Regions from separate parts of the Homo sapiens genome. Here regions 1 and 3 are each linked to region 2. The links are contacts of gene promoters, found by promoter capture Hi-C in human tissues and cell types (Jung and others, 2019). All regions are on one chromosome and are shown on one strand. The core of a region is centred on a gene start or on the middle of the fragment in contact, and the rest is flanking DNA. Distances in the headings are between cores, read along the strand shown.

What was found. Contacts are between HindIII fragments. The study calls those that stand out against the background at their distance.
Region 1: a contact is called between a fragment that was not itself captured here and the fragment with the promoter of AMER2 in region 2, in 3 of the 25 tissues and cell types used here (dorsolateral prefrontal cortex, neural progenitor cells and spleen).
Region 3: a fragment that was not itself captured here is called in contact with the fragment with the promoter of AMER2 in region 2 in 1 of the 25 tissues and cell types used here (dorsolateral prefrontal cortex).

Annotation. Positions count from the first base shown.
Region 1 is chr13:25,131,822-25,135,530 of GRCh38, reverse strand. No RefSeq gene overlaps it. Among named protein-coding and RNA genes, the nearest start is that of PABPC3, 38 kb to the right of the region's middle. The HindIII fragment of the contact is 5,264 bases long and covers 1-3,709 here.
Region 2 is chr13:25,170,972-25,174,690 of GRCh38, reverse strand. It overlaps AMER2 (APC membrane recruitment protein 2), which reads left to right and starts at 2,403. Exons shown (of 1, transcript NM_152704.4): 1 at 2,403-3,719. The coding sequence starts at 3,072. LINC00463 (long intergenic non-protein coding RNA 463) reads left to right here. Exons shown (of 4, transcript NR_120428.1): 3 at 604-778; 4 at 1,369-1,867. RefSeq lists an enhancer at 345-1,544. The HindIII fragment of the contact is 4,196 bases long and covers 1,115-3,719 here.
Region 3 is chr13:25,223,467-25,227,321 of GRCh38, reverse strand. It overlaps LOC105370121 (a long non-coding RNA gene), which reads left to right. Exons shown (of 3, transcript XR_941763.3): 3 at 1-164. Among named protein-coding and RNA genes, the nearest start is that of LINC01053, 44 kb to the right of the region's middle. RefSeq lists an enhancer at 1,016-1,185. The HindIII fragment of the contact is 3,211 bases long and covers 111-3,321 here.

The DNA.
Region 1 (3,709 bases), core at 1,168-3,667, 39 kb after region 2:
GCTAGGATTACAGGAATGCTCCACCACGCCTGGCTAATTTTGTGTTTTTAGTAGAGACAGAATTTCTCCATGTTGGTCAGGCTGGTCTCGAACTCCTGACCTCAGGTGATCCGCTCGCCTTAGTCTCCCAAAGTGCTAGGATTACAGACGTGAGCCACCGTGCCCGGCCGAAGACATGCATTCTTGTGGAGCTGATAGTTTATAGGAGGAGACACATGGGAGAAAGACATCATTTTGTGATGGAGGCAGAGTGTGAACAAATGTAGCTGCCAGCAATAAGACCTCAGAATGTGGTGGGTACTGTGGCAAGCCAGAGAGAGCAAATGGGATTATATAGATTTTTGTGTAAAAATTTCTGATTTTTAAAACACCTACAGTGAAGCAAAACACACCGTAGGCTGAATTCAGCCCCTGGGCTGCCAGTTTGCATGCTCTAGTGAAAGGTGACAGGACAGGAGACCAGAGGAGGGGACAGCCTAGGACACACCTGTCTCTGCCTCTTATTTCTGTTTAGGACTGTAGAGTTAGGATAATAAAATCAAATAAACAAACCAAAGCTGACACTCTAAGCATCTTAGTTCCTTTGTGCTGCATGGACTGGGTAATTTATATAAAAAAGAAATTAATTAATTAATTTTAAAATTATTATTATTATTATTATTTAAGACAGGGTCTTGCTCTGTCCCCCAGGCTGGAGTGAGAAATTTATTTTGTTCTGTGGTTTTAATGCATCCCTTAAAGTTGATGTGTTGGAAACTTAATCCCCAATGCAACAGTGTTGAGAGGTGAGACCTCTAAGAGGTGATTAGGTAATGAGGGCTCCACCTTCATGAATGGATTAATGTTGTTATTGTGGGAGTGAGCTTCTGAAAAAAGGGTAAGTTTGACCTCCTCTCCTCTGTCTTTTGCCTTCACTTACCCTCTCGCCTTCCACCATGGGTTGACACATAGCATGAGGGCTCTTGCCAGATGTGAGACACTTGAACTTGGACTTCCCAGCCTCCAGATCTATAAGAAATAAACCTCTTTTGTTTAGAAATTATCCAGTCTCTGTTATTTTGTTATAGCAACACAAAATGGACTAAGACATTTGGCTTATGATTCTGGAGACTGGGAAGTCCAAGGGCATGGTGCTGACATCTGCTCAGCATCTGGTGAGGGCCTTCTTTGCATCTTTGTAACATGGCAGAAGGAATTGCATGACAAGAGAGCAAGTGAGAGACTGAACTTGTAGCCTCAAGTCCCATTGTAACTGGCATGAATCCATCCATGAGAGTGTAGCCCTTACACCCTAAACACCTCCCATTAGGCCCCACCTCCCAACACTGTTGCATTGGAGATTAAGCTTCTAACACATGCTTTCTTGGGGGACATATTCAAACCATAGCACCAAGGAAAACAAAAAGAACTAAATGCAAATACAAACAGATTAAGATCCTGCAAGGCACAAGAGCATGGTGATAAAGGATGGCACTGCCTGGGTTTGAATCCTGGTCTGGTACTTGCTAGCTGTGTGGGCTTTTAGGGGAAGCCACTTCACGTCAGTGCCTCGATTTTCTCATCTGTGGAATGAAGAGACTATTCATAACCCCCTTATGGGTTGTGAAGATTGAATGAGTTGATACAGGTAAAGTGCTTGGAAGAGTGTCTGGCACCATCAAAGTCTTAGCTACTATTGGTTTTATTAAGGCAGATGATTTCAGGTTGTAAGGAGAGGTCCCAGAAAAAGCAGTGAGCAGTTTATTCAGTACAAGATGTGCTCATGCCCTGGGCAGTCCTCTGTAGCAGCACCCTCTTGAGCTTCTTTGCATTGTGCCTACTCTGTCTCCTCCGACTCTTGTCTCCATCCTAGGCTGTATCTTTTTTCCAGGTCTAGACTTCTGAGATAGGCTGTAAGGTGTACCTTCTTTCCAGTTGTAGATCAGCACTTCTGAAACTGTTATGTGCTTATGAACCATCTGGAGATTTTACTGAATGCATATCCTAATTCTGGAAATCTGGGGTGTAACCTGAGATTCAACACTTCTAACAAGCACCTAGTTCTTGCCAACTTTGAGGAACCAGGAGCCAAAAAACCTGCTGCCTCGACATCTTCTTCCAAAGTAAGTTTTACACCAAATATTGCTTCTAGAGTCTTCATTCTCCTTCAGCACCTGAGGTCCAGTCCATATACGGTCCCCTCCCACTTCACAGCTCACTCGCATGGCAGTGATGAAAGATGGACCCTGCACCTACAAAATATTCTGGCCCATGATATCAGCTCCATCTGTCTGCTCAGCTTCTCTATGACTCAGGAACACACCTCCTCCCATGGGAGTGTTCTGGTAAGCATCTAATATGAACAGAGTTTTCAAAATTGTTTTCTAATTTCACAACACTATAGATACACTGTGAGGGGAGCAGTTTTTCCCCAGAATAAACACAACAAACAGAACCTTCTGTTGCAGCCTATTTTACTTGCCTGTTGACTCCTCTGTCTTTCTTTTGAGAAAATGATCTCGGAAAGGCCAGGATGTCGTGTTCACTGTTGGACTCCCGCCACCCCTCTCTGCTAGACCCCTGCATGTAGTCTATAATATATGAGGAGGAAGTGAATGCATTTACACACTGTGTGAGTGATTTGGCCACATTCCACACCACACTTTTGTTCCAAAATGCCCAAGTCACAGATAGCTCATTAATGTATGAGGATGCCACAGTTCTCTTGGCTCAGATGTCCCCCAAAACCTGGGAAAATGGAACCAAAGGGCCTTTCTTTATGTTGGCACCAATTAACTGGCTTATAAGCATCCCAGCTGCAGAGTAGCAGAAGAAAGTATTCTTAAAAGAAAGAATAACCTAAAGTTGGAAAAATGACAATAGCTGGAAGCATGATAGAGTTATACAGTCTTTCCAAGTTGCCATGTAAGTAGTCCCTGGTGCCATTTATACTTTGTATTTGGCCACCCTTAGAGGCCACCCTCAGTGGAGTTTTGCTCTGTCCTTAACCTGGCCCACACAGCCCCAAGAGTTAGCTATCACACCACTGACTCTCTTGTATCTGTATCACTTATTTATTCATTGATTCACATTCATTTCATCCTGCTCACTGGCTGACAGGCCAGAACAGAAGGAACAGTACAGCTTATTTGAGTTAGAACAAGAGGAAAGGATGGGAATTCAATAAAGCACAGATGATGTGTGTGTGTTGGGTGTCGGGGAGTTTGGGAAGGACAGAACTGAGGTCTGTATAAACCCCACTCCCCAGCCAGCCCTTGGGGCTGGTGCCTCTGAAAGACCAGCGTGTAGGTGTAGCCCTTTGTCATGTATTAAGGGACTGTTAACGGAGGGTATCAACAAAGGGTCAGAGACAGCTTTAGACAGGGAGTGCAGGAGCAGTGAAGCCAGGAATAAAAGCATCACCAACAAAAGTTGGACCAAGTCCCAGGGCCTGGGTAAAGTCTCACAGGACTCAGTATGGCTATGATGTCCCAAATCTGTCACAAACCTATGCTACTGACAGCTCTGCATCTGTGAGTGATTTTCGTGACAAGATTGACAGTGCAGGGGCTTGAAGAGAATCTGTTGCAAATGAAATGCAACTGGATTAAGACTGACTGACAAAGATCGTATAAAACCCAAAACTCGAGGAGGCCTTGGACTTTGGGGGGAAAATGGAGAGAAAAAAAACACATAAAGATGGTGAAGGTTAGAATGCAGAGTGTGACCC
Region 2 (3,719 bases), core at 1,154-3,653:
GGAAGGAAAGGAAAGGAGAGGAGAGGAGAAAGAAAGAGAAAGAAAGGAAAGAAAAGGAAAGAAAGAAAAAGAAAAGAGAAGAAAGAAAGAGAAAGAAAGAAATTCCACCCAGTAAGCTTTGGGCAAAGGGCTGGACTGCTTTGAAGGCACCCTAAAAAAGGAAATGATGATGTGATGATGATGTGATGATGATGATGATGATGATGATGATGACGACGACGTTAAGTTCTCAAATGGTTCTTCCTGTGTTTCTCTTGTTTTTTTTTTTTCCTTTTGAGTACCATCCTCCAGAGAAGCTCACTACCTAGAGAAAAAAGCCTCAACAAAACGACAAATACTTCCTGGTGCCAACAAAGAAAAGCCCACACATGTCTTCCAGCAAAATCCACTTGCTGTTTGCATTTGTGATACGTCTTATTGTTTTGGAATGGCTTTTCCCTGAAATGTTTCCCCTCGGTCCTGTTCTCTATTCCTTTCTACTCTAATTTTCTATTCACTCCCAAGCTGGGGCAGGATGGGGGAAAAGAATGAAAGAAGAAACTATAAACAAAAATGGGAGTGCTTACGGTAAAATTATCTTCACTGTCATGTTCTGTCTCTCAGGGAAAAAAAAAATCACCATTTTGCTTTCTCCACTCTTGACTGTGAAGTTTAATATAAGGTATGGCTCAGTCTTTGTGATGATTCATAACCTGGCTCTAACCAACAAACCATTGGACCATCCTGCGCCTCATCTCTCTCCCCTACAGAGTCTCTCCTTACCTGTCTGGCTTTTGGGGTAAGTTCCTTTCAGCTGACTTCACCCTCGTTTTTCCCACTGTCTCTGTAACAAGGACTTTGAGTAGGACGCTGGAGGGTCCTCACTCACACCGCAGCCTCTACAGCTCCCATGCCCAGTGCCTTCAGATTGTTCCAGGGGTCCCTGCTTTCTTCTATCTCAGGGCCAGTAACTCACAGTGAGGGCACCTTCCGCAGGCTGAAGACAGCTTTGTCTCTTTCTCTTTGTTTGAGTGTTGATGTCCCAAAAGAATGATATCCATCCCAAAGTCCTCTATCAGATTTCTCCCAGGAGGCCCAAAGATTCTCATGTAAATTAGAGTCACATTTGACCTGTCCTGATGGGTGAATAAGCAGACCACTTTCTCCCAGTGGAGAAAGGGAGATTTTTTAATAGGCGACTTACTTTTCCTTGATCCCAGTCACAAACTCTTCCAAACTGACAGAGCTACATAGTAACCCACAAATCTAAGCAACTGTATGGGTGTGTGTGTGTTTGTGTGTGTGTGTGTGTATGTGTGTAAAATTGAGAGACTTTCTATTGTTCTTCAAAAGGTTGTAAAGACGTAACAAATGGGTTTCTCTTTACAGTTCCTTACACGTGGTCTCCCCAGAAAGCACTGAGGACTCTGATTCATCATGTCAAGCGGTCAATTAGAATCCGGGAAAGCCTCTCTCTGGCCTCACCTTACTTCCTGTACCAGGAGAGATGCTCATCAATAGTGAGAAAGAGTTGATGGGATTAGAGTCTGGAAGTGACAACCTCTCCTGAACCTGAACTCATTGATTTCTTCGTTTTACAAAACAGTGTTCTTGAAAAAAATAAACAAAAAAAGGAAATAATACAACTAAGAACTCCAAGGTCTAAATTTTAACCAGCTGTATCTCATAACAACAGAAGCTGCAATGGCCAACATACGTCATTTATAAAACGCCAACTTATGTGGATGGGGATTGGGATTTATTGGCCTAATGCAAAGAGCATATAAAAAATGAGTAGGGAAAAGACTACTGTTTGTGTATATATGTAATTATTACATATATTCTTAAATGATATTTAATAAATAATCAAATGATTAAATAATATATACTATATATACATGTTATATTTATATATGTATATGCTTCTCCAAATTTCTTTTTGCTAAAAAGCACTCAGCTGGGATTATGAAATCAGATGTCAAGATTAGAATATTAGCAGTCACTTTTTAAATCAGAACACAGAACAGATCCCTAGACTGAGCTGTTCCCAGAAAAAAGGTTTTCCCTCTCCCCAGACCAGGCAGGTAGGAATGTCTGCAGAGATCCCTGGACACACAGGGACCCCTGCCAAGCTTTTCCTGCTCTGTACATTGGGGAAGGGGACTACAAGTCAGCCCTGGTGGTATGGGGGAGGGGAGTGGTACCGCAGTGACAGGAATAATGCCACTGTCCTGCTGAGTGGGAAAGGAGAGGGCAGAACCCGGACTCGAAGGCCCACCTGTGGAGTGGGTCTGAGATTCCCAGCCTGTGTGTCTCGGTCAGCTTGTCTATTGTTATCAGATGTGGGCTGTGCCGCAGCATCTGTGACTTCATCCCGTGGTGGCTGGAGTCTGGGATAAAAGTCATGGTTGTCCCAAAGGTGCAGGCAAACTCCACCCCGGGGAGCTGTTGTGCTTGCATTGCTGGGCTGCTGATAGACTGATTGAGTGGTGGCGTGTACTTTTGTCACAAGAACCATAACCACAATGACAGCCACACAGCATGGACCTAGCGTGTGCTCAGCTCTGGACAAGACATGGATGTAGGCAGACATGCTTCCTGCCTGCTGGGCTTAGTGCACCAATGCTAAGGACAGACATGAAGGGCTTGGGAAAGGCATGAAGATGCAGGGAGTCTAGGAGAGAGGATAAGAAAAACAAGCATTTTGTGGTGGGTTGAATTGCGTTGTCGTTTTTAGAGGCATTTCGTGATCCATGGTTGCGCTCCCGTGAAGAGCGAGTCTAGAGAAGGAATCCGAAGGTGGGTGAGAGTTGAGGGAATTTGAATTCCATAATTACGACTCGAATTTCTGCAATCAGCTCGCGGCTGTGTTGCCTGCTCCTGCCACAAAAACGCCATGCAGCGCCGAGCCAAGTCGGATGGAAGTGGGTTAGGGTATTATATAAGCCCTTGCGGGAGGGAAGATGGTCTTTTATGTGTGTTTCTTTTGCAGCGGCGGCGGCGAGCGCGGCTCAGGTTGATTTAGAATACGGGTGACAGTGGCCTGGCGCGAGCCCACTGCTGACGAAAGCGGCTTATCCCGCGCGGTTTCCATGGAGACGAGCCGGAGCCGCGGCGGCGGCGGGGCTGTCAGCGAGCGCGGCGGAGCTGGCGCGTCCGTGGGGGTCTGCAGGAGGAAGGCGGAGGCCGGGGCCGGGACCGGGACCCTCGCGGCAGACATGGACTTGCATTGTGACTGTGCCGCCGAAACGCCGGCCGCCGAGCCGCCGTCGGGGAAGATTAATAAAGCTGCCTTCAAATTATTCAAGAAGAGGAAATCGGGTGGCACCATGCCCAGCATTTTTGGGGTCAAAAACAAAGGGGACGGGAAAAGCTCGGGTCCGACGGGGCTGGTGAGGAGCAGGACCCACGACGGACTTGCCGAGGTGCTGGTGCTGGAGAGCGGCAGGAAGGAGGAGCCGCGCGGCGGGGGCGACAGCGGCGGGGGCGGCGGGGGGCGGCCGAACCCGGGGCCCCCCAGAGCCGCAGGGCCCGGCGGGGGCTCCCTCGCCAGCAGCTCGGTGGCCAAGTCGCACAGCTTCTTCTCGCTGCTGAAGAAGAACGGGCGCTCGGAAAACGGCAAGGGAGAGCCTGTGGACGCGAGCAAGGCCGGCGGCAAACAAAAGCGGGGGCTGCGGGGGCTGTTCAGCGGCATGCGCTGGCACAGGAAAGACAAGCGGGCCAAGGCGGAGGCCGCGGAG
Region 3 (3,855 bases), core at 467-2,966, 53 kb before region 2:
GAATAGGGTAAAAACCCTTTAATATAGGATTGTAATACTTGGCATTCAATTTATAATTTTTGTAGCATTCAATATATGGACTCAATTTATAATTTAATGCATAATTTAGTTTTATAATTTTATAAGACTATATACTTATAATTAAATTTACAATTTATAATTTTGATTGCCTCTTTGTAAGTTCCATTTACAACTCCTTGTCTGCCACAGAGACTTAACATTGTAGGGAACACGTGTGGAGAATCTCTTACTCTTTTAAAATTGAAAGTCATGGCTCATGCCTGTAATCCCAGCACTTTGGGCCAAGACGGGCAGACTGCTTGAGCTCAGGAGTTTGAGACCAGCCTGGGCAACACAGTGAAACCCTGTTTCTACAAAAAATACAAAAATTAGTCGGGTGTGGTGGTGTGTGCCTGTAATCCCAGCTACTCAGAAGGCTGAAGCACAAGAATGGCTTGAGAACGGGAGGCAGAGGTTGCAGTGAGCCGAAATCATACCACTGCACTCCAGCCTGAGTGACAGAGCGAGACTACATCTCAAAAAAATAAAAAAATAAATTAAATTAAAATTAAAAAACAAGTGGAAGTCAGTAATTAGAAAGCCCAAAGATTAGGCTCAAAGTGTTGTCTGGGGTGTAAGCCTGAAAGGGAAGCCTCTTAAGTTCTGTGGGGTTCACTTTTCGAGGTAAACTGCAGTTGTTTTGACAGGGGAAGTCTGCTTTTAGCCATTTCAAATATTTATATTCTTATTCCAATTCACTCATAGACTAGGAGCACATTCAAAGATAAGCATTTAAACCACAGCGGAAAGTAGAGGCCTCTGATGGAGCACATTTAAAACGTGTCCTCATCTGGGGAAGGAGATATATTATTCAGTCAAAGCAGAAGTGAGTGCAAGAAATAACCTCCACTAGATTTTTGCAATTACCGGGATCTATTAAAGTGGAAAAAAAAACATTTGTTGGAGATCTACATCAGTGAAATCCAAACATTTTAAGTCCAATTTTCCTCATGGAAGAAAGACCACATAGAAGAGGGCTCAGGACTGTGAGGAGCACAAGGTTCCCGCTGTGCCACCAGCCACTCAGCCCTTGTTGCCCACTCAGGGTCTCCAGGAGCAATCCTGTAATTCCCTCCACAGACTCTGGGGACCTGATACATCTTTCCAGCTGCCTGGAGGTTCTACCCCTTAGCATTGGCTCTAGAGTACAGTTGATCTGGCTTTTACGCTTGCGTCCTCTGAAACAAGTGCACACGTTATGGGGACTTGCTGCTACAGAAATTTTTCAATGTTTGGAAATTTGCATATGTTCAAGAAATCTCAAAAAAGTGCCAACCTTACTCAGTACTGATCCCCTTCTGTGGATGCCCACACACCTTCTCTCCTCCAGCCTCCAACATCCCCTCGCGCCGCTTCCTTCCCTGTTCACAGAGAACACAGACACCATCAGAAAGAGCGGCCCCTGATTCCACTCCCCATGGTCTCCACAGCCAGTGGCCAGTTTTCATTGCTCCCTTTCTCCGGTTCATTTAAGACATTTGATGTGTTTGGTCATCCCTCTTTCATGGAACATTTTATGCTGTTGGCTTCCAGATGCCACAAGCTCCTCCATCATAGTATGTGGCTGTGGCCCTGGCTACCTGCATCCCAGGAGGGCTCTGCACAGCCACCAGCTCTTCCTGTCCTTGGATTGTAATGTAGGGTCTAGGACCCATGTCTTAGCACAAAAGGAGCTGGGAAAAGTATCGGGGCTATTCATTTAAAATACGGTAGGTAGGTTCCACTTTATATGGTGGGGAGTTCCTCAAACTTAAGAGGGTTAAAAAAGATGACCGCTGTCCATGTGGGACCTTGACCCAGTGAAATTTGGGTCACTGATGCAAGGCCATTAGTGCCTAAACCGGCAATGTCTGGTGAAACTAAGGTTTTGCTACCTATCAGATTTATAGGATATATTGAAATCAACAAGTGTGTGTGTGTGTGTGTGTGTGTGTGTGTGTGTGTGTGTGTTTTCTTTTTTTAGATGGAGTCTCACTCTGTTGCCCAGGCTGGAGTGCAGTGGCACGATCTCGGCTCACTGCAACCTCCAATTCCTGGGTTCAAGCAATTCTCCTGCCTCAGCCTCCTGCGTAGCTGGGATTACAGGCAGGCGCCATGATGCCCGGCTAATTTTTTGTGTATGGAGACGGGGTTTCACCATGTTGGCCAGGCTAGTCTCGAACTCCTGGCCCGCCTCGGCCTCCCAAAGTGCTGGTATTACAGGTGCCGCGCCCGGCCTGTTTTTGTTTTTAAAGAAAGCAACAAACAGATGAGCTAAGCTTAAGAAGCAGAAATGAGTAAAAACAAAAACAACAACAACAACAAAATAAAGCAAAGATAAAAAACACTGTTAATGAATTATTAAAAAGAGAACATCAAAAAAGCCAATAAACCTGAGAGCAGTTTCTTAGACAAAAAGTAATCAAGTAGGCAGACTTTCAGAATATCTACTTAAGGGTGAAAAAGACAAATGAAACAAAAGAGAAAAATAATGTGGCAACACCTTCAACCCTCTCCTGGGCATCCACAGAACCCCCAGCTAGTCTCCCAGCTGCTAACTACTCTTCTTCCCAGCCTGAATGTTGCTGTTCCCCTAAATTCATATCTTGGAAACTAATACCTGCTATGGTAGTGAGGCCTTTGGGAAGTAATTAAGTCATGAGGGCTGCGCCCAAATGCATGGGATTAGGGTACTTATAAAAGAGGCTTGTTTCGGGGAAAAAGTCTCACTGACTGCATTTTTCCTCTACTTCCCCATCACCACAAGAGTCAACGCAGAAGACTTCTGTGACCAAATGTGTGGGTTTTTTCCCCCCGACACGAAGCAGCAGACACTAGCTGGGTGTCCTCCAATTCAATTCCAACACTACCCGGAAACAGTGTCAGATCCCACAGGTTGGAGGCTCCCTGGCATTGGGAACTGGATCCCACAGTCCCCAAGATTCCCGTCATACGCCCTGACACCAGCTGCAAGTCTGGACCTCCAGAACTTCTGACCGGACATCTTCAAGTTAGGGTTCCTACGACCCCCTGTTTGGGTTTGATTAATTTGCTGCAGCAGCTCACACGACTCAGGGAAACACTTACTTGTTGGTTTATTATAAAGGATAGTACACAGGATACAGATGAAGAGATGCATAGGGCAAGGTATGGGGGAAGGGGTTCCGAGCTTCCATCAACCTCCACGTTTTCAGTCATCTGGAAGCACCTGAGCCCAGTCCTACTGGGTTTTTATGAAAGCATTCCTTTCCCCGAGGACATGAGATGGGACCCACTCGGGGGAAGGTCTTAAAACCTGCAATCAGAAAGGCAGGAGAAGACTGGTGTTCTGCCTTGGGGCAGGCGACAGGAGGGCAGGAGAAGATCAGAGGCTGTCCCGAGGCCCAACACGCCCAGCATTATTACAAAAGACTGTAACAAGGTGATAATGGTTTGGTTGTGTCCCCACCCAAATCTCATCTTCAATTGTAATAATCCCCATGTGTCAAGGGTGGGGCCAGGTGGAGATAATCGAATCACAGAACGGGTGTCTTTCCCCTGCTGGTCTCGTGATAGTGAATAGGTCTTACGGATCTGATGGTTTTATAAATGGGAGTTCTCCTGCACACGTTCTCTTGCCTGCCGCCACGTTAAGATGTGACTTTGCTCCTCATTTGCCTTCCTCCATGATTGTGAGGCCTCCCCATCCATGTGGAACTGTGAGTCCATTAAAGCTCTTTCCTTTATAAATTACGCACTCTCAGGTATGTCTTTATTAGCAGCAGGAGAACAGACTAATACACAAGGGCTCTGGGAGTTAGGAGTGAGGAACCGTGG